Regions from separate parts of the Homo sapiens genome. Here regions 1, 2, 3 and 4 are each linked to region 5. Evidence: promoter capture Hi-C in 16 types of primary human blood cells and fetal thymus (Javierre and others, 2016). All regions are on one chromosome and are shown on one strand. Each heading gives the region's core, a stretch centred on a gene start or on the middle of the fragment in contact. The rest is flanking DNA. Distances are from core to core; before and after follow the strand shown. Region 1 overlaps MAST2 (microtubule associated serine/threonine kinase 2). Region 2 overlaps MAST2 (microtubule associated serine/threonine kinase 2). Region 3 overlaps MAST2 (microtubule associated serine/threonine kinase 2). Region 4 overlaps IPP (intracisternal A particle-promoted polypeptide). Region 5 holds the start of LURAP1 (leucine rich adaptor protein 1).

Region 1 (4,454 bases), core at 186-2,685, 350 kb after region 5:
TATCCTAGAAATCACTCTTTTCAAAGTAGTCTTCCTTTCATTGATTTACAAATTAAGTATTCTCTATGTACCAGATGATATCATGGGCCTAGCTATACAACTGTTAATAGAAATAGATAAAAATCCCTGACCTCTTAAAGCTTACATTCAAGTGGATGTAGACAGGCATTAAACAAAAAATGAATACATAAAATATACAGTATGTTAGAAGATAATAAATGCAATGAAGAAAAATAAAACAGGGAAGGATTAGGGGTTTGGGAGAATATTTTCATGCAAATTTGACGTTTGAGATACTGAACATATTGATGAAAAAGCTATGCTAATATTAAGGCAATATGAACACTTAAACAAGTACTAATTCCCTTGCTAAAGTATTATTTAAAAATAACTAGCTTAAGTCTACTCCCTACATATGATGCACATCTCCTCCCCAGCTCAGCCCAGCCCACTACCCTCATGACATATACATTCAAGCATACTCACATAAAAAAAAAAAACAGATCTAAAGGATAACTTCTCCCCACGTATATACAAAACATGGTTCCATGATTCTTTTTTGTTTGTTTTGCTCTTCCTCGGTATAATTGCTCATTTATTTTACTGTGCCCTGTAATTTAGAATTCTCCTAACTTAAAACCAATTAGATAATGGTATCTTTTCAAAAGACAGAACGTTTTTTTAACATACAGAAGCAAGCCAAACCAAACGACATGTAACACTCAAAGAATAAAGTGTCTTGTTAGTAAAACATGAAACTTACAAGGCATGCAAGTAAACAAAAATAAACAAAAATGTTTGATGTCAAAATCACATGTGCAACTGCGTGTGTGACTGCAAATAGTCTCACATTTGTCATTTCAACCTGAGTTACACTATACCTTGTCTGAAAAGGTTTTCCCTAGACTTCTTATATGAGAAGAAGCCACATATTAGTTCCATTTATTCATTTAAATATTTGCTCAACAAACAATTGTAACTGTTATTATTTTTAGATACGGGATATTGCTAGGTTGCCCAGGCTGGTCTTGAACTCCTGGCCTCAAGCAATCCCCCCACCTCAGCCTCCCAAAGCATTGGATTACGGATGTGAGCCACCCATGCCTGACCTCAAACATTAATTACAAGTTTGCTGTGTACCAAGCCCTGTATCTTCAGAACTGTCTTCTTCAAGAAGCTCACACTCAAGGGAGGCAAATAAATAAAAATTATATTGCACTGTGTATACACTCAGGACAGAGCTTTTCCTGCCTTCAGCATATTCAAGATCAATATTCAAGATCAATCCAAGTTAAACTTCTGAAGCCCAAGAGAAGCCGAAGATCTGAAACTGTAATGATAAGGTGAGTAAAACTAGCATTTGCTAGTCCCAAATTAGGCTCCTGAAGTCAGCACTACCAGAATAAAAATTCAGTGTTTAATTAAATCCTAGCCAGAGCAATAAAGAAAGAAAATGATAGAAAAGGAATATATAGATTGGAAAAAATAAAACTGTCCTATTTGAAAATGACATGATTGCCTATGTAGAAATGCTCAATCTACAAGAAAAACTCCTAAATGAGTTCAGCAAACTCACCGGATACAAGATCGGCACACGAAAACCAACCATATTTCTATATACTAGTAGCAACAAACATGTAAAAACTAAAATTTAAAATACAACATCATTTAAAGTTGCAAAAAAAAAAGTTTCATCTCATTTCTTTTTTCTATCTGACCTCTTAAATTTCAACCCCACTTGAAATAAATTACCAGCGCTGAGGGACTGAGACTGTTCCTGGCAAGCAGCATGAAAATACAAAAAGATAAAATACTTAGAGACAGAAATGCAGCAAAACACATACAAGATATGTATGCTAAAAATTACAACATGCTGATGAAAAGAATTAAAAATCTACATAAATGCAGAGACACACTATTTTCATGGGTCAGAAGAATCAAATAGAAAAAAAAAGCCATTTCTCCTCAAAACTTATTGTGATATCGTGATTTATAATAAAAATATATATTTTTTGGTCTTCATCCTAGTTCTTGACACAGAGCTCCCAATCCATTAGAATTTATTGGGTGATAGACATGCCTTCTGTTCTAACAAAGGGAATGTTAACTGGGCTCCTGTATGGAGGCTGTGCACCAGAAAGACCAAGCCATGATTAGAAAATTGGAACTTTCCACCTCACCCTCCAATCCTCTGGGAAGGGGATCATGCCTATGTGATAAAGCTGCCATGAAAATCAGTGAAGTACAGGGTTCAGAGAGCTTCCAGGATCCTGACCACATGCAGGTACCTGGAGGATAGTGAGCCCAGAGCGGGTGAAGCTCCACACTCCTTCCCACCTGCCTCATCCTATGTGCTTCTCCACCTGGTGGTTCATCTGTATCCAATTTATAGCTGGTCAGTCAAAAGAACAGGTAAAACCAGCTAGGACTGAAACTGGATCTAAAGTAGGGGCAATCTTATGGGACAGGGCCTTAGCCTATGGGATCTGATGCTTATTCCAGGCATGCAGTATAGGAGTTGAGTTAAATTATAAGGCACCCAGCTTCTGTCTGCTGTTTGGTGTACAGGGAAAAAAAACCCATAAATGTGGTGTCAGAAGGGTCCTGTGTTGTGGTGAGTTTGAGAGTAGGTAAAAGTTTAGTTTTTCCTTTATCTCATATTTCTTTATAGGTTTAATGTAATTCCTATCAAAATCCCAGCAAGACTTTTTGTAGATATAAAAAAGCTTATTCTAAAATTTATGTAGAAAGAAAAAAAATCACTAAAACCATTTTGAAATAGAACAGTAAGTGTAAGGAATCACTCTACCCAATGTTAAGACTTACTATATAGCAGCAGTAATCAAAACATTGTGGTAATGGCAGAAGGAGAGTCCCATAAGTGAACTGAACAGAAAAGAGAACCCAGAAATAAACCACACAAATATGTCCAATTTTTTTTTTTTTTTTTTGAGACAGAGGGTCACTCTGTCACCCAGGCTGCAGTACAGTGGTACGATCTCAGCTCACTGCAACCTCTGCCTCCCGGGTTCAAGTGATTCTCCTGCCTCAGCCTCCCGAGTAGATGAGATTACAGGCATGAACCATCACTCCTGGCTAATTGTTATATTTTTAGTAGATAGGGTTTTGCCATGTTGGCCAGGCTGGTCTCGAACTCCTGACCTCAGGTGATCTGCCCACCTTAGCCTCCCAAAGTGCTGAGATTACAGGCATGAGCCACTGTGCCCGGCCTGAATATGTCCAACTGATTTTTGGCAAAAGTGGAAAAGCAATTCAATGCAGAAAGGACACACTTTTCAATAACTTATACTAGAACAACTGGACATCCATGAGCTGAATAAAAAAATAAGCTTAACCTACAACTCACACTATACACAAAAATTACTTCAAAATTGATCATGAGTTAAATGTAAAAAATAAAACTGTAAATTTTTAAAAGAACACAGAGGAGAAAATCTTCAGAACCTAGGAATAGGTGAAAAGTTCTTAGACATGACACCAAGAACACAATCAGAACTTCATCAAAATTAAAGACATTTTTCAACCTAAGAAAGCTGATTGAAAAAAAAAAGAGATTGTACACATAAAGGTAGTATAAAAAATTTTTCTTTTAAGAAACAGAAAAACAATTTTAGGATGGGCACAGTGGCTCACGCCTGTAATCCCACCACTTTGGGAGGCCGGGGTGGGTGGATCACTTGAGGTCAGGAGTTCAACACCAGCCTGGTCAACATGGTAAAAACCTGTCTCTACTAAAAATACAAAAATTACACAGGCGTGATGGTACACACCTGTAATCCCAACTACTCAGGAGGCTGGGCAGGAGAATCACTTGAACCCAGGAGGTAGAGGTTGCCGTGAGCCGAGATCGAGCCACTGCACTATGGCCTAGGTGACAGAGACTCTGACTCAAAAAAAAACAATAATTATTTTTAAAAAATTAATAAATGTGTTATGCAAAACACTCTGTTAAAAAGAATAAAAAAGTTATTTGCAAACCACATATCCAACAAGGAATTTATATTTAGAATACATACAAAACTTTTAAAAGTTTATAGTTTTAGGGCATGGGGCTCATATCTGTAATCCCAGCACTTTGGGAGGCCAAGGCAGGTGGATCACCTGAGCTCAGGAGTTCGAGACCAGCCTGACCAACATGGTGAAACCCTGTCTCTACTAAAAATACAAAAATTAGTGAGCATGGTGGTAGGCGACTGTAATCCCAGCTACTCGGGAGGATGAGGTATGAGAATCACTTTAACCTGGGAGACAGAGGTTGCAGTGACCCAAGATCATGCCACTGCACTCCAGCCTGGGTGACAGAGATACCATCTCAACAAAAAATAATTGTTTTTAATTTAAAAAAAAAGTTAATAGCTTTAAAAAAATCCATTGCCAGTGGTGCAGATTCAAAAAACAAACACATAAAATCTATCAACATGTGAGTAAATAAC
Region 2 (4,402 bases), core at 318-2,817, 390 kb after region 5:
CGAGACCAGCCTGGCCAACATGGTGAAACACTGTCTCTACTAAAAATATAAAAATTAGCCAGGTGTGGTGGCAGAAGCCTGTAATCCCAGCTACTCGGGAGGCTGAGGCAGAAGAATTGTTTGAATCCGGAAGGCAGAGGTTGCAGTGAGCCAAGATCGTGCCACTGCACTCCAGACTGGGGGACAAGAGCAAAACTTCGTCTCAAAAAAAAAAAAAAAAAAATTGGCCAGGCGTGGTGGCGGCTGCCTGTAATCCTAGTTACTTGGGAGGCTGAGGCAGGAGAATTGCTTGAACCCAGGAGGCAGAGGTTCCAGTGAGCTGAGATCGCACCACTGCACTCCAGCCTGAGCAACAGAGCAAGACTCGGTCTCAAAAAAAAAATGATAATAATAATAATAATCTTATGGGACCCCCATCTTGTATGTCATCCATCATTGACTAAAACATAATTATGCGGAACATGACTGTATGCAGAGAAAAAGAAAATGAATAGTTCCATCTATACTGAACATGTATAGATATTTTTTTCTTGTCACTATTCCCTAAGTAATAGAGTGTAACAGTTATTTACATAGCATTTACATTGTATTATATATTATAAATAATCTGGAGATGATTTAAAGTACATGGGAGGATATACATAGGTTACATGCAAATACTATGCCATTTTATAGATAGAACTTGAGCATACCAGAGTTTGGTATCTGCAGGGGGTCATGTACTCAATCCCCGAGAGATATTGAGGGACAACTGTAGCAGCAAACAGACCTGAGGGGCTGAATGTGGAATACAGGTAAGGTTAAGAAAAAAATCAAACACAACCTCCAGTTTTGTTCTGGTAAATGAGTAGTGCCATCTATTGACATGAGGCAGACTGGGGAAGAAGCAGACTAGAAAGTGAAAATCAAGACTTCATTTTTGGACATGTTAAGTTTGAGAGGTCTCTGAGCTATCCAAATGAAAATGTTACACGGACTATTAAAAATAGGAGTAGGGCCAGGCACAGTGGCCGATGCTTGTAATCCCAGCACTTTGGGAGGCCGAGGTGGACGGATCACCTGAGGTCGAGAGTTTGAGACAGCCTGACCAACATGGAGAAACCTAGTCTCTACTAAAAATACAAAATTACCCAGGCGTGGTGGCACATGCCTGTAATCCCAGCTACTGGGAGGCTGAGGCAGGAGAATCACTTGAACCTGGGAGGCGGAGGTTGCAGTGAGCCAAGATGGTACCACTGTACTCCAGCCCGGGCAACAGTGCGAGACTCCGTCTAAAAAAAAAAAAAAAAAAAAAGGCTTACAGATTGATCTTTAGGCCAAGAGACATCCAGAACAATGATGGGAAAACTCTGTAATCACATGTGTCCTACCCTCATCAGGGAACATTTGCCAACCTGCTTCAAGCCACCATAGACTCTCTGCTCCCAGTACTTTTGATGAAACTAAATATTTCAAAGTTAACACCTTTTTAGGAGCTAGCCCTTACCCATACCCTGGATAAGAGGGAAAGGAGGTCAAATAAACTTTTGCACTGAAAACTCGGAAGATTTCTCAAATGCTCATGTCTCAAACAGCATGTCCTGCATCCTATCCTCCACACAGTTGCCAGAGTAATCCAACTAAAACACAAATAAGAATATACTGCTCCTGTGCCGCGCGCGGTGGCTCACACCTGTAATTCCAGCATTTTGGGAGGCCAAGGCGGGCAGATCACCTGAGGTCAGGAGGTCCAGACCAGCCTGGCCAACATGGTGAAACCCCATCTTTACTAAAAATACAAAAATTAGGCCAGGCGCAGTGGCTCACGCCTGTAATCCTAGCACTTTGGGAGGCCGAGACAGGCGGATCACGAGGTCAGGAGATCAAGACCATCCTGGCTAACACAGTGAAACCCCGTCTCTACTAAAAATACAAAAAAATTAGCTGGGCGTGGTGGCGGGCGCCTGTAGTCCCAGCTATTCGGGAGGCTGAGGCAGGAGAACGGCGGGAACCCGGGAGGCAGAGCTTGCAGTGAGCCAAGATCAGGCCACTGCACTCCAGCCTGGGTGACAAAGTGAGACTCTGTGTCAAAAAAAAAAAAAAGCCGGGTGCGGTGGCTCACGCCTATAATCCCAGCACTTTGGGAGGCCAAGGAGGGCAGATCACGAGGTCAGGAGATCGAGACCATCCTGACTAACATAGTGAAACCCCGTCTCTACTAAAAATACAAAAAAATTAGCCGAGCGTGGTGGTGGGCGCCTGTAGTCCCAGCTACTCCAGAGGCTGAGGCAAGAGAATGGCGCGAACCCGGGAGGCGGAGCTTGCAGTGAGCCGAGATCGCGCCACTGCACTCGAGTCTGGGCGACAGAGCGTGACTCCGTCTCAAAAAAAAAAAAAAAAAATACAAAAATACAAAAATTAGCTGGGCGTGGTGGCATCCCAGGTACTCGAGAGGCTGAGGCAGGAGAATTGCTTGAACCCCACAGGGGGAGGCTGCAGTGAGCCGAGATCGTGCCATCGCACTCCAGCCTGGGAGACAAGAGCGAGACTTCGTCTCAAAAAAAAAAAAAAAAAGAAATATACTGCTCTCGGCTAGGCACGGTGGCCCACGCCTGTAATCCCAACACTTTGAGAGGCCGAGCCAGGTGGATCACTTGAGGTCGGGAGTTTGAGACCAGCCTGACCAACATGGAAAAACTCCGTCTCTACTAAAATACAAAATTAGCCAGGCATGGTGGCCAATGCCTGTAATCCCAGCTACTTGGGAGGCTGAGGCAGGAGAATAGCTTGAACCTGGGAGGTGGAAGTTGCGGTGAGCTGAGATCGTGCCACTGCACTCCAGCCTGGGCCACAGAGCAAGACTGCCTCAAAAAAAAAAAAAAAGAATATACTGCTCCCCTACTTATTATCCTTTTTTTTTTTTTTTTTTTGAGATGGAGTCTCGCTCTGTCGCCCAGGATGGAGTACCGTGGCGCGATCTTGGCTCACCGCAACCTCCACCTCCCGGGTTCAAGCAATTCTCCTGCCTCAGCCTCCCAAGTAGCTGGGATTACAGGCGCCCACCAAGACGCCTGGCTATTTTTGTATTTTTAGTAGAGATGGGGTTTCATCATGTTGGCCAGGCTGGTCTCAAACTCCTAACCTTAGGTGATCCACCCACCTTGGTCTCCCAAAGTGCTGGGATTACAGGCGTGAGCCACCACACCCAGCCAATTATCCTTTTATATCACACTAAAGACCCTCAACAATCAAGGCTTCTTTAATCTCTAACCTAGCATTTACACCTTCAACGTAAAGCTCTGGGTCTGGCAATAACAAACCGATTATAGTTCCCTATATATATTACGCAGCTTCCCTTCTGTGTGCTTTCTGCCCTATGCTTTTCCCAATGTACTAACCCTGTAATGCAGAGGAAAGAGGTTCTGATTTCCATTAAAATAATTTTTTAAAATTTCTGTCACACTGAGGGTATTTTAGGAACTAAAGTTGAACTCATCTTCTGCCATCCTCAAAAATATTCTATTTCCTTTGTCTACTCCTATCATATAACCATTATTACTCAAATTACCAAAATTCAAAATATTTGAATCATTCTCCATTCATTCATTCAATAAATAATGACTGAGCACCTATTGTGAGCAAAGCCTTTAGCTCTGCATTGTTAGACAAAATGATGACATAGTTCTTACCTTCAATAACATGCAACTTAAAAGCAAAAATGAAATACAAATGAACACAGAAAGTTGAAAGTGCTAAAACACTGATTCATCCTTTCATTCAGCAAATATTTATTCAGCATCTACTTTATATGACCAGGAATGGATCAAACAATATGTTACAGAAACAAAATGAGATAAGACTACTTATTAAGCACCTACTTATTATGTGCTTTCCAGTCATTTTTGCATTTGATCTCTTGGAACCTAAGCTTTCACTTTTAAACCACAGAATTTTGAGAACTGGAATTTCAGGACATTCACAGATTTCCTGAAGCCCAATTAAGGATCCTCCTAGGATCCCATGTGGAAAAACAACTTTGCAGAAGAGTTTCTTTTTGGGTGTGTGGTTTTGTTTTTGTTTTTTGTTTGTTTGTTTTTTGCTTTCTTTACGAGACACGGTCTCATTCTGTCACCCAGACTGGAGTGCAGTGGTACAACCTTGGCTCACTGCAGCCTCAACTTCCAGGGGTCCCACCTCAGCCTCCCAAGTAGCTGGGCCCACAGGCGCGCACCACCAACCCCGACTAATTTTTGTATTTTTTGTAGAGATGGGGTTTCACCATGTTGCTCAGTCTGGTCTCAAACTCCTGAGCTCAAGCAACCCGCCTGCTCAACCTCCCAAAGTGCTGGGATTACAAGTATGAGCCACCACACCTGGCCTCACAGAAGTTTCTGTGGCATTTGAGTTAGGCCTGGAAAACTGA
Region 3 (4,628 bases), core at 654-3,153, 320 kb after region 5:
TGTAGGAACTAGATTGGTATAGATGGAAAAAGAACATTCCAGCTGGGCACGGGGGCTCATGCCTGTAATCCCAGCACTTTTGGGAGGCCGAGGCAGGCGGATCACGAGGTCAAAAGATTGAGACCATCATGGCCAACATGGTGAAACCCTAAAAATATAAAAATTAGCTCAGCGTGGTGGAGCGCACCTGTAGTCCCAGCTACTTGGGAGGCTGAGGCAGGAGAATTGCTTAATCACCTGAGGTTGGGAGTTCGAGACCAGCCTGACCAATGTGGTGAAACCCTGGCTCTACTAAAAATAAAAAAAAAAAATTAGCTGGGTGTCATGGCGTGCACCTGTAGTCCCAGCTACTCAGGAGGCTGAGACAAGAGAATTGCTTGAACCCAGGAGGTGGAGGTTGCAGTGAGCCAAGATTGCGTCACTGTACTCCAGCCTGGCAACAGAGTGAGATTCTGCCTCAAAAAAACAAAACAAAACGAAACAAAACAAAAATTCCAGGCACAGAGAACACATTGTGTAAAACATGGAGAAAAATATAGCAACCACACTGTATAGATAGTCAGGTGTGATCCTAAGAGTAAGAAAAAATTCACCAAAGGCCAGGTGCAGAGGCTCACACCTGTAATCTCAGCACCTCGGAAGGCCGAGGAAGGCAGGTAGTTTTAGCCCAGGAGTTTGAGACCAGCCAGGGCAACATGGCAAAACCCCACCTCTACAAGAAGTACAAAAATTAGCTGGGTGTGGCGGCGTGCACCTGTGGTCCCAGCTACTTGGGAGACTGAGGTGCGAGTACCACCTGAGCCCAGGAAGGCTGGGGCTGCACTGAGCCGTGATCGCACCACTGTACTCCAACCTGGGTGACAAAGTGAGATTCTGTTTCAAAAAAAAAAAAATTTCACCAAAAAAGTTTAAATTAATATCTAATAATGAAATCCGCATTTTAAAAAGCTTTTCCTGGCTATTGTATGATAGTTAGGTAGACTGAGGGTGAGCAATGCCAGATAAAGAAAGGCCAGTTAGGAGGTTATGGCAGTAGCAGAGGCAAGAGATTACAATGGCTGTGACTATCTGGACAAACCAGTGGTAGTATAAAGAAAGAGAGAACACCAGCCGGGCACAGTGGCTCAGGCCTGTAATCCCAGCACTTGGGAGGCCGAGGCGGATGGATGATGAGGTCAGATTGAGACCATCCTGGCTAACGTGGTGAAACCCCGTCTCTACTAAAAATACAAAAAATTAGCCAGGCGTGGTGCACACATCTGTAGTACCAGCTACTGGGGAGGCTGAGGCGGAAGAATCACTTGAACCTGGGAGGCGGAGGTTGCAGTGAGGCGAGATTGTGCCATTGCACTCCAGCCTGGGCGAGAGAGCAAGACTCCATCTCAAAAAAAAAAAAAAAAAAAAAAAAAAAAAAAAAAAAGAGGCCGCGCGCGGTGGCTCACGCCTGTAATCCCAGCACTTTGGGAGGCCGAGGTGGGTGGATCACAAGTTCAGCAGATCGAGACCATACTGGCTAACAGAGTGATACCCGGTCTCTACTAAAAACACAAAAAATTAGCCGGGCGTGGTGGTGGGGGCCTGTAGTCCCAGCTACTCAGGAGGCTGAGGTGGGAGAATGGTGTGAACCCGGGAGGCGGAGCTTGCAGTGAGCCCAGATGGCGCCACTGTACTCCAGCTTGGACCACAGAGCGAGACTCAGTCTCAAAAAAATAAAATAAAATAAAAATAAAGACAGAACACCAAGAGATATTTGAGAGGTATAACAGAAAAGACTTGTGAGTGTAAGGAAGAGCATGGCAACAAAAATAACTAAATTTTCTATCTTGAGGAAGCAGTACCATTTAATAAGCTAGAGTATAAGAGAGGACCTGATTTTTGAGAAAGACAATGACTCAGATTCATAAATGCTGCAGTTCAGATGTCTCTGAAATATTCAGTCACATTATGGTGAATGGACAGTTATGAGATCTAGCGATATAAATGTGGGGATAATGAGCATGACAACTATTCTCAACATACAGTAACAAAAACAGGTTCTCAAGGATTTTCAGATCCCACCTACACAGGTAAAGCTCGCCAACAACTACATCCATTTTTTAACAACAAACTGGTTCCCTGTAGGGATATGAGTGATGACTATGGCTACTTCCCTCCCAACCTCTGCTACGTCCTGCCTTCCCATTGGACACTTAGAGAATCTATATGAAATTACTTCCCACCAACTTTTAAAAGACAGGGTCTTAAATGTAACACAAAGCTATCACTCTGGGCTTTAGAGTCTTGAAAGATTGCAAAATTTCCTGATTTTCAAAGCCCCACAGAAAACCTAAAGCCCTATATCAGACGCCACTGATACCTCAACAAAGGGTTTATTATGTGTATGCAGCAGGTGGTATCTCTTTTTAGCACATTTTCCAGAAGCATTGATCCAGGCATCAAGTTGCATCAGAATGGGAAAGTACATGACACTGTCAGTTTCATAGGAACAAAGTTTGACACATCACATCCCTGGGGCCCAGGAACTCCTCCCTGCCCACTATGCAGTGCCTATCACTGCAGACACCAGACATTAACTTTCATCCAATATCTGGTATCTAAGTCCACTGCCCAAATGAATAAGCTGACAAAATAAAAGGTTAACTATCCCCAAGGGCTCTAAAGACTACAAGCCAGCAATGCCAATAATATCAACACACACATATACACATACCCCATGATGAATGCAACCAACAGCTACCTCTCCACTCCTACAGTCTGTTATCTCAATTGACTGCTCATAGCCTCTAAGAAATAAAGCAAGACATTTCATGAAATATGAGGAAAATTATCTTAAGCCTAATGGGTATTAGAAAAGCTTTACTTTCAGGGTAACTGGAGACATAAGCATTATTTACATTAAGCTCCCAAATGCAGGGTCTAGGTACTGGTGCTGAAATTCACAAACAAAATAAACAGTCGCCAGGCATTGTGGTTCATGCCTGTAATCTAAGCACTTTGGGAAGCCAAGGTAGGCAGATAGCTTGAGCTCAGGAGTTCCAGACCAGCCTGAGTAACATAGTGAAACCCCATCTCTACAAAAAATACAAAAATTAGCCAGATGTGGTGGCAGGTGCCTGTGGTGCCAGCTACTCAGGAGGCTGTGATGGGAAGATCTCCTGAGGCCAGGGAGGACCAGGCTGCAGTGAGCTGAGACTGCGCCACTGCACTCCAGCCTAGGCTAAAGAATGAGACCCTGTCACAAAAACAAACAAAATAACAACAACAGCAAAAGAAACAATCCTATTTGAAAGGAATCATCAAAAAGAGGCCCCCACTATAGCATTGGGCAAGAAAAGCCATTCAGAGCTGCTTCAATTATGAAAAAGTAAAATATAAAACCCTTCTAGCCTGGGTAAACAGATACAAGTAACTTTAGAACTTCAAAATCTTCTTTTCACAGATATTGTACTTTGAACAAAGTTATCAACTCCCTTAGGTCTGATATTCTAAACTACATTTTTAATGCATTAAAAAAATACCCAGATGGGTTTAAATATGAAATAGCTTTCTAAAAATGAAAATGATTTAGTTTCAGGAAGCTACATCTAAAATAAATGGTATGAGCCAGGCCAAAAGAACTTTCATAACCACCTTGCCCCAATAAAGCCCTTATCGTGGCAGGCATAGATGATGTTTGCATTTTGCGTATTAGAATGTAACAGCTCTCTTCCCTAATCTGACCAATGTCACTATAAATGTGTGTGTGTGTGTGTGTGTGTGTGTGTGTGTGTACTTATAGATACATATATAAATATGTATACAATATATAAATATATATGTATACTTATATAAGTATATAAATATATATAATATATACATATATATTTATCGATCTATCTCTATCTCAGTATCACTCATTCCAGACTCCTGTTCTCTGCTCAAATGTTGCCTTAATGAGAAAATTCCTGGACAATACAAAATTTTTTGATTTTTAAAATTTTTCTGTAGAGACAGGGTCTCACTATGTTGCCCAGGCTGTTCTCAAACTCCTGAACTCAAGCGATCCTCCTGCCTTAGTCTCTCAAAGTGCTCGGATTACAGGTGTGAACCACCACACCCAGCCTAGACAATTCAATTTAAAATTTAAAATTTAAACCCTCACCCCCACAGAAACACACATCCTCCTCTCTGATATCTGGCTTTATTTTTCTTCATAGCAGTAAGTACCATATGGCATATCATACATGTTTTTGTCTCTCTTAAGTAGAATGGAAACTCCATGAGCACAGGGACCTTGTCTGCTTTATTCACTACTGTATCTCCAGTATCTAGAATAGTGCCTACACCTAACTGGAACTAAAATAATATAGTATGATGGATGCATGGATGGAAAGATTTGAGCAAATGACAAAGTGAATGGAGGCAAAAAGACAAAAATATAGTAACTGATTTTACCAAAAAACATCTAGTAAGTAATAGTGCCGTGACTGAAACCCACATCTGCCTGACTTGCAAACCCAAGCTGTTAATTTTTATGCTATACTTCCACTTACCAATTTGGAGACTTTGGAGGAATTACTTGTTGAGTGGAAGAATGTGTATTTTGTATAATGCCAAGTTGTCACATAAGTCTAGAAACTCATATTTGA
Region 4 (4,665 bases), core at 688-3,187, 500 kb after region 5:
ACATAACCTAAATTATCCTAATTTATCTTAACCAGAAATGGATCTTCTTGAGAATGTATTTATATTTTAAAATGTAAGTATTTTTCAGTTGTGTCAGTTTTGTGATGTGCTGTGTAATTTCAGATGATCAAATAGCTTTCAAATTTAATCTAGTCCTTCACTTTCAAAGAATTGTCCCTGGTTTAGTATTTCATAATCTTATTTAAGTTCACATCAGCAAACATACACTAACTGTTTATAATATGATGGCACTATCCTAGTACCTATGTGGGTACTGGGATGAGAAGCTCAAGTCCCTGTCCTCAAAAATTTACTTTCTAGCATTGATGAATAATCAGTCTTCACTATTTATGATTAAAAAAACTTTGTTCATCATATGCTTTATTTAAAGATTGATAATCTGTTCTCCCATTACCTGGCCACTTGCTCTTTGCTCTCCTAATTACTTCTTAGGACCTTTAGTAGCTTTCTTGTTTTCTGAGTATGGACGTTTTCCCTCAAGTAAGACACTACTAGTCGCTGGGTGCGGTGGCTCACGCCTGTAATCCCAGCACTTTGGGAGGCCAAGGCGGGTGGATCACTTGAGGTCAGGAGTTTGAGACCAGCCTGGCCAACACGGTGAAACTGTCTCTACCAAAAATACTAAAAATTAGCCAGGCGTGGTGGCGGGTTCCTGTAATCCCAGCTACTCAGGAGGCTGAGGCAGGAGAATCGCTTGAACCTGGGAGACAGAGGTTGCAGTGAGCCAAGATCACACCATTGCACTCCAGCCTGGGCAACAAGAGCGAGACTCCGTCTCAAAAAAAAACAAAAAAAAAAGTAAGACACTACTAGTCATTTTGGCTATAGCAGCACATTGAAATTTCTTCAGGGAATGATGTATAACAGGAGTTAGCAAACTTTTTGTGTAAAAGCCCAGATAGTAAATATTTTTGGCCTGTGGGCCATACACAATATCCTTTTTTGATATATGCTTTGTCTTTTTTTAAAAAATACCTTTTAATATGGGAAAATCATTGTTTGTTCTCAGGCTATACCAAAGTAGACTATAGTTCCCAACCCCTGGTTAGCCCACCTTTTTGAAAATATGTTCTGCAGATTACTAACTCCACTGGATGCTCCTTGTAAAAAGGATTCCATGGTCAAATAAATTTGTCAGGTGTTCCATGCTGTGTCATTCTCTTGGACATTTTTAAGACTCATTAAAATACTAAAGGCTTTTAAAAAATCCTTTGGTTTATAAGCTTCTTTCTCCTTGGAGCTTTGTGGTTCTTTTGTTTTTATTTGCTTATTTTTGAGTGTATTACCTACTTGTATTCCATAGACTTTGTTTCTTAGAATGTTGTCCTGTGTATGAGTTCTAGGTCATTTCCTGATCATGTTTTATAATCAGACCTTTTAAAAAATTATATTCCTCTAAATTTACTTTGTTCATGCCCACTTCAAGTTTATTTTAAAATATTCTGGGCCGGGTGCTGTGGCTTACACCTGTAATCCTAGCACTGTGGGAGGCTGAGGTGGGACAATCACTTGAGTTTAGGAGTTTAAGACCATCCTGGACAACATGGTGAAATTCCATCTCTACAATAGAAAAATTAGCTAGGTGTGGTGGTGTACACCTGTAGTCCTACCTACTCAGGAGGCTGAGGCAAGAGGAGCTCTTGAGTCTGGGAGGTTGAGGCTGCGCTGAGCCGAGATCGTTGCTGTGCATTCCAGCCTGGGTGACAGAGCGAGACCCTGTCTCCAAGGAAAAAACAAAGCAAAAAAAAGAAAAAAAAATCTGTATGCTTACCTGACTAGATAGTTTTACATTTAAACATGTAAAAAGAACTGGGATATCGAATTTCTCAGTGGATTTCTTTACTATCATTTCATAACACTGCTAACATATTTTTTTTTTCTCTCTTAACCAGGAAAAGTGGGTTGAAGTTGCCTCAATGAAAGTGCCTAGAGCAGGCATGTGTGTTGTGGCAGTCAATGGTCTTCTGTATGTTTCTGGAGGTCGATCTTCCAGCCATGATTTTTTGGCTCCAGGTACCTTGGACTCAGTTGAAGTTTATAACCCTCATTCAGATACATGGACAGAAATTGGTAACATGATCACCAGTCGTTGTGAAGGGGGCGTTGCTGTGCTATGAAATATAAAGCATAACAGAGCACAAGGAACATTTTGAAAATGCAGGACCTGACCTTTTGCAAAGCAAACATAGATTTGGTGATAAGACCCTCTGATTCTGTGAGTTTTCCATGTATTTGGTAGATAAATGACTAACGAGGCTGGGCGCAGTGGCCTCATGCCTATAATCCCAGCACTTTGGAAGGCTGAGGCAGAAGGATCACTTGAGCCCAGGAATTTGAGGTTGTAGTAAGCTACGATCATGCCACTGCACTCCACTCTGGGCAACAGAATGAGATCCTGTCTCTTAAAGAAAAAAAATAAACTCAAGAATGATTTTTCTAAAAATATGAGTGAGAATGGATATGGAATATATCCCAATTAATAAAGAGCTCACACAGATTTGCCAGGTTTACTAATAATAGAAATGCCATTTATGCTGTAGAATTCTCCAGTTTAAGTGTAGACAACTCCTATTTTACAAATTTGTAGAAATTATTTACTAGAAGCTTCCTGGCAAATAGTCCCTTTAGCTACTTCTCCAGTGCAGTATAAATTGTAACATAAAACTTTATGTGATATAGGAATAGTGTCAATGACACAGTTTAAAGACCTCTATATTCACAATTATATCCAGAGCATAATTTTCCATGGCCATAGTTTGAGCCACAGAGAAAGCCAATGAAATAGATTCCTACTTTTATTTAATGCCAAGAGTTTTCACTAGCCCCAAACTTTTTATTGGCAGCAGATATCCTAGGAGGGGTGTTTGGGAAATATCTAGCTATTTTAATAGATAGATACCTTTTTGCTTGATGATAAGTTTTTGCTTGCTCATATTTTTTGTCTTGATCCTGAGAATGCAAGTAAGGAATTAATAGGAGGTTCTTAGTGACCAGATGTTGTAATGGGCTATACAGTCCAGCAGGCAGTATGCACCTAGAAATTTCTCCCTTTTTTAGGCTGGGCATGGTGGCTCACACCTGTAATCCCAGCACTTTGAGAGGCCGAGGTGAGACGGGAAGATGGCTTGAACTCAGGAGTTCGAGACTAGCCTGGGCAACGTGATGAGACTCCGTCTCTACCAAAAAATATATAAAAATTAGCCGGGCGTTGTGGCTTGTACCTGTGGTCCCATCTGCTTGGGAGGCTGAGGTTGCAGGATCACTTGAGCCCAGGAGGTCAAGGCTGCAGTGAGCCAAGATTGTGCCACTGCACACCGGCCTGGGTGACAGCATGAGAACCTGTCTCAAAAAAAAAAAAAAAAAAAGAAAAAAAAATTCTTCCTTTTTTGCTAGATTGTTGTCACCAAAATTATCTGTTTGGCTTTAGGAAGAGGGAATTTTATTAGATTATCAAGCTTTGTAAAATTTATTTGTACTTGGGCAAACCTAAGTAAGAGCATACTGCAAAGCTACTGCTTGGATGTAGAGGGCTAAATTGTAGGTACTTCTGAAACTTTTTATAGATACTGACTCATAAGTGTAATTTGAAAGTACCCCTTGACCCAAACAAAACTGCTTCTCAAAACTTCTCATTTTCTCCCTGAGAAGCATTCTAAAGAATTGTTCTCTGTTCATTTCTAAGAGAAAGATTTACTGGGTGTATGATGCGGTTACTTTTAAGTTATTTCTACTGGCCAGTTGGAGCAATATATATTAAAGGTCTTGCATACAGTAAAAAAAATTTTTTTTTGAGATGGAATTTTGCTCTTGTTGCCCAGGCTGGAGTGCAAAGGCGTGATCTCGGCTCACTGCAACCTCCGCCTCCCGGATTCAAGCGATTCTCCTGCCTCAGCCTCCCAAGTAGCTGGGATTACAGGCGCCCACCACCATGCCTAGCTAATTTTTCTGTATGGGGTTTCACCATGTTGGCCAGGCTGGTCTCGAACTCCTGACCTCAGGTGATCCACCTGCCTTGGCCTCCTGAAGTGCTGGGATTACAGGCATGGGCCAGCGTGCCCGGCTGCATACAGTAAAATTTAACTAGTTGACTTAAGGATTTGATTTCCCGTTTCTTTTTTTTTTTTTTAGATGGAGTCTTGCCCTGTCACTCAGGCTGGAGTGCAATGGTGTGATCTCAGCTCACTGCAACCTCTGCCTCCCTGGTTCAAACGATTCTCCCGCCTCAGCCTCCCGAGTAACTGGGATTACAGACGTGAGCCACCATGCCTGGCTAATTTTTTGTATCTTTAGTAGAGACGGAGTTTCACCATGTTGGCCAGGCTGGTGTTGAACTCCTGACCTTGTGATCTGCCCACCTTGGCCTCCCAAAGTGCTGGGACTATAGGTGTGAGCCACCGCACTCTGCCGATTTCCCATTTCTTTGCTAAGGTCCTTCAGTATATTACTATAAGCATCATCAACTTATTTAGATAGAAAACTTTTAATTGCATTAATGAATTAGGTAGCACTCATATCCAAATTATTTGGTTTAGGCCGGGCACCGTGGCTTATGCCTGTAATCCTAGCACTTTGGGAGACTGAGGTGGGCAGATCACTTGAGGTCAGGAGTTCAAGACCAGTCTTGCCAACATGGTGAAACCCCGT
Region 5 (4,381 bases), core at 1,361-3,860:
TGTGCAAGGAGAGCTGGGAGAGGAACAATTGAAGGACAGTCCTTAGAGGGCTTGAACCAGTCCTGCCTTCAGTAGCCCGAAGGCAAATCCCTTGCCCCACCCCTTGTCCTTCCTGGGTGCAACCCAGTAGGCAGGGCAGAGCACAAGAAGAGATTAATATTAATAACATCCTGGCCTGAGGAAGGAGAAAAAATAGGATGGGGATCTCTCCTCATTCTGGCCCCAGAAGGCTCCCTCCCTTGTGCCCTTTCTCGGGCAGCCTCAGGCCCCAGGCAAGCTGGGTCAAGAATACAGAGAGACAAAATCAAAAGTTAAATGCAGCCCCTTAAAGTTTACAGATAGTTTCCACCAAGGCAGAGAAGAGAGCCAGAGACTGGGCGTGGCTCTTCCACTGACTCCCTATGTGAGTTCAGAATCTGCAAGCACGTTTTATCTGTAAGATGGGAGAAATGATGACCAGTTTTCTCATTTCAATGACATAAAATGTTCAGACTATCTGGCACAAAGCAGGTCTCAAAGTAAAGATGCAAAGTGCAGTCAGATGATCTGGGTTCAAATCATGGCCCTGCTTTTTGCGTGATGTTGGGCAGTTATTAAACTCCCTGTGCCTCTGTTTTCTTTTCTTTTCTCCTCCCTCCCTCCCTTCCTCCCTTCCTCCCCTTCTTCCCCTTCTTTTTTTGAGACAGGGTCTAGCTCTGAGCTCTGTCACCCAGGCTGGAGTGCAGTGGTGCGATTTCAGCTCACTGCAACCTCCTCTTCCTGGGCTCAAGTGATCCTCCTGCCTCTGCCTCCAGAGTAGCTAGGACTACAGGCACACACCACAACACCCATCTAATTTTTGTATTTTTTGTAGAGACAGGGTCTTGCTTTGTTGCCCAGGCTGGTCTCAAACTCCTGGGCTCAAGCGATCTGCCTGCCTCGGCCTCCCAAAGTGCTGGGATTACAGGCGTGAGCCACCATGCCCACCCTGTGCCTCAGTTTCTCCATCTATAAAATATCACTTAACAGGGTTACTGTGGAGATGAAGAGAGCATCATGTAAAGTGCTCAGCAAGCTGCCTGGCACATGCACTGGGTGAAAGTTTTCAAAGCAAGTAGACAGTCTAGATAGGCTCTTACTAGGCCTTGAGCTAAAGTTTGTACAGTGAGGCAAAGGCAAGCCCCCGCTTAGGTGGGTACAGTCACAGCCTTGCTCTGGAGAATTGGGCACTCACCTCCAACCTTCAAGGCCAAGTGCACACTTGGCATTCAAGTCCTTCTCCCAGGGGGCCTTTCCTGACTGCTCCACCCACCAGACTCTCTTCCCAGCCTCTCAGCTCAGGCGTCGGAGCCCTGGCTGGTCTCAGAGCCCCCATGATTTCCTTCCCCTTCTCCTTCACAGACCAGCTTGGCACAGGCTGGGCACACAGGAAGACTTTAGCTGACGTACTCACTGTGGGCTCCTGGTTGTGAGCCAGGAAGCCGATGGCAATTCCTCAGTTCCCCAGAACTGGCTGCAAAGTAGTGGCAGGTGTAAATCACCCACTTCACCGGAATCAGGGCCCTGGGGAACCTGCCAGGGCCTCGGCTGCCCTTTTGGCTCTGAATCTAGACCAGCAGCAATAGAGAAAGGGGAGGGTTGCTGTTTCCTCTTCTCCCCAAGAATGTACAGATGAGATCCAAATATCCAGTTTACCTGGAAGACTGGCTGGGAGGAGACTGAGTCTGAGGCGAGGGAATCAGCACCAGTGGTGCTGCTACTCTCTGTCCCTGCTATGGGTCTAGGAACTTTCCATTATTTTAAGTAGGGCTGGGGGATGTAGAGGAAACGGAGAAGGTTTTCAGTGCCCCTGGTCCAGGTAGTTTTCAGCAGATAGGCCCCTTTACCCACTTCTTTTCTGTGCGGAACACTGCGGCCTCACAGGAACTTAAACCCTTTCCCGGTTAGCAGAAGGAGAAAAAACCGGTTGCCTTACAACGGGGACTGGCGGGGAATAGGTGGCCCATACAGGCGGGGGGAATTTGTGCTGCGTTGGGTTCTCAGTACTTCCCAGTCCTCATCTCTCTCCTCCCAATTATTTGGCAGGAATAACTTCCAAAACCCACTGCTCCCAACCCAAGTCCTCAGGACCATCAACACCCCACTCACTCTTGGGGGACAAGTAATGGACGTCACTCCATCTCCACCCCAGCGTTTACGGATTGATCTGGGAGGGATTCTGAGCAGTTAGGTGGAGAGTTTTAACTACCTCCTCTCCAGCTTAACTCTGGGAGCATGAGTTCGTCCCTCCCGGCCCTACACTAGGGACTCGTCCCCTTGGCCCATGGATTCAGCACTCACCAGCTCCATCTTCAGCGCCATGATCTTGTCCCCCAAGTCGTGGCCGGTGCTAGACGCCCCTGGGAGCAGCAGGGCGCCAGAGGTTCCCAGCTCACACTCGCCTCGCAGCCCGCGGAGCAGCCCTTCAGGGGTCTTCCTGCCCACCTTACCCTCCACATCCCGCAGGTCAGGCGTCTGGGACTCCACGGTCCCCTCCATGCGGGCCCAAGCCTGAAAAGGGCTGGGCGACCGGACGCCGGGGACCGGCTCCCGGGGGTCCTCCCTTCGCCGCTGCTAAAGCGGAGCAAAACCGGTGGGTCCCCGCCCGCGCGGCGCGGGGGCGGGAGGAGGGCGCCGTAACACTCAGAAAAGCCGCGCAGCACCGTCTGTGGATGTATTCGAGTGCTGCGCACACAACCTCTGGCCCTGGATTGCGTGGGGCTGGGCGATTCTGGAGTTGGACCTGAAAGAGCACTCGGAGACCTCAGCGCCTTCGCCCCACCCTGGCACTGAATCCAGCCAGGCACACAGCAGGCGCCCAATACATGTTTGCAGAATGAAGTCTAAGCAGCTTCAGTCAGAGATGTGGGAGTTTAAGGAACAGCGGTAACAGAGAGCTGCAGAGGGCTTGGAAGTCTTCCTGGAGCAGAGGAATTGGGTATAAAACGATGACTGGATTTTAGCTAGACACACACACACACACACACACACACACACACACACACCACCCCCCCCCCCCAGGGGCTAGAATTCAGGCTAACGGAGTAGAAAAGGGCAACCAGTACTGAAGCTGAAGAGGTCCACGTTGGGCTTACAAGCAAGATGCTCCTTAAGCTTGACTGTGCGTATGAATTATCTGCGGATCTTGTTAAAATGTAGGTTCTGATTTTGTAAATCTGGGGTGGGGCTTGAGATCCTGCATTTTTTTTTTTTTTTTTTTTTTTTTTTTGAGACAGAGTCTCGCTCTGTCGCCCAGGATGTAGCGTGGTGGCGCGATCTTGGCTCACTACAAACCTCTGCCTCCCTGGGTTCAAGCAATTCTCCTGCCTCTGCCTCCTGAGTAGCTGGGATTACAGGCATGCGCCACCATGCCCAGCTAATATTTTTGTATTTTTAGTAGAGACAGGGTTTCACCATGTTGGCCAGGCTGGTCTTGAACTCCTGACTTCAAGTGATCCGCCTGCCTTGGCCTCCCAAAGTGCTGGGATTACAGGTGTGAGCCACTGCGCCCAGCCAAGATCCTGCATTTCTAATAAGCTCCCAGGTGATGGCCATGCTGCTGGTCCACACTTCAAGTAATAAGGGACCACACTTTGAGTAACAAGGTTACAGAAAATGGTTCTGAGATGTTTGGGTTTTATTTAACAGGTAATGAACAGCCATGAAAACTCTGGTTTGTTTAGGCTTTTAATTCAAGTAATTCCAGCCCATGGTTGCAGAAGGATTTACAATGAGAAGATAGTTACCCCTACCCTACCCTTTCACACCTCTAGGCCCACTCCCAATTGGCAAAAAATAACTTTTAGTTTTTTTTTTTCTTTTGGTGTTCATACCCATAACGTTATTGTTTAGAGTTAACTAAAAGTGGTTGCCAATTGGGAGTGGGCCTAGAGGTGTGAAAGGGTAGGGTAGGAGTAACTATCCTCTTATTGTAAATCCTACCACTATTTTTTCTTTTTTAGAGACAGGGTCTTCCTACATTGCCCAGGCTGGACTCAAACTCCTGGGCTCAAGCAATCCTCCTGCCTCCCAAGCAGCTGTGACTACAGGAGTATGCCACCATGCCCAGCCACACTACTTCTCAATTTTAAACATTCATCTGCTGTTTATTGTCCTATTCAGATAAATATGGATATATGGGTTTAACTCACACTCTGTAGTTCCTTTCCCCCATTGGCAATATATATTTCTTTTCTTTTCTTTCTTTTTTCTTTTTTTTTTTTTTTTTGAGATGGAGTCTCACTCTGTCGCCCAGGCTGGAGTGCAGTGGCACGATCTTGACTCACTGCAACCTGCCCTCCTGGGTTCAAGCGATTCTCCTGCCTCAGCCTCCTGAGTAGCTGGGATTACAGGCACGTGCCAC

The links. The method cuts DNA at HindIII sites, captures the fragments that hold promoters and counts their contacts. A CHiCAGO score of 5 or more calls a contact.
Region 1: a contact is called between a fragment that was not itself captured here and the fragment with the promoter of LURAP1 in region 5, in 1 of 17 cell types (erythroblasts). The highest score is 5.1, in erythroblasts.
Region 2: a contact is called between a fragment that was not itself captured here and the fragment with the promoter of LURAP1 in region 5, in 1 of 17 cell types (M0 macrophages). The highest score is 5.6, in M0 macrophages.
Region 3: a fragment that was not itself captured here is called in contact with the fragment with the promoter of LURAP1 in region 5 in 3 of 17 cell types (M0 macrophages, endothelial precursors and erythroblasts); the score reaches 5.6 in M0 macrophages.
Region 4: a contact is called between a fragment that was not itself captured here and the fragment with the promoter of LURAP1 in region 5, in 3 of 17 cell types (M1 macrophages, fetal thymus and M0 macrophages). The highest score is 7.3, in M1 macrophages.

What each region holds. Positions count from the first base shown.
Region 1 is chr1:45,852,834-45,857,287 of GRCh38, reverse strand. All of the region lies in intron 3 of MAST2 (microtubule associated serine/threonine kinase 2), which reads right to left. Among named protein-coding and RNA genes, the nearest start is that of MAST2, 51 kb to the right of the region's middle. The HindIII fragment of the contact is 2,586 bases long and covers 143-2,728 here.
Region 2 is chr1:45,809,318-45,813,719 of GRCh38, reverse strand. All of the region lies in intron 1 of MAST2 (microtubule associated serine/threonine kinase 2), which reads right to left. Among named protein-coding and RNA genes, the nearest start is that of MAST2, 7.9 kb to the right of the region's middle. The HindIII fragment of the contact is 4,684 bases long and covers 1-3,909 here.
Region 3 is chr1:45,885,456-45,890,083 of GRCh38, reverse strand. All of the region lies in intron 4 of MAST2 (microtubule associated serine/threonine kinase 2), which reads right to left. The region is part of intron 2 of LOC105378694 (a long non-coding RNA gene); the gene reads left to right. Among named protein-coding and RNA genes, the nearest start is that of MAST2, 84 kb to the right of the region's middle. The HindIII fragment of the contact is 1,906 bases long and covers 951-2,856 here.
Region 4 is chr1:45,697,439-45,702,103 of GRCh38, reverse strand. IPP (intracisternal A particle-promoted polypeptide) reads left to right here. Exons shown (of 9, transcript NM_005897.3): 9 at 1,914-3,393. The coding sequence ends at 2,138. Among named protein-coding and RNA genes, the nearest start is that of TMEM69, 12 kb to the right of the region's middle. The HindIII fragment of the contact is 1,381 bases long and covers 1,247-2,627 here.
Region 5 is chr1:46,201,563-46,205,943 of GRCh38, reverse strand. LURAP1 (leucine rich adaptor protein 1) reads right to left here and starts at 2,610. Exons shown (of 2, transcript NM_001013615.3): 1 at 2,320-2,610. The coding sequence starts at 2,517. It also overlaps a transcript of POMGNT1 not described here. RefSeq lists a silencer at 2,570-2,689. The HindIII fragment of the contact is 3,345 bases long and covers 1-3,134 here.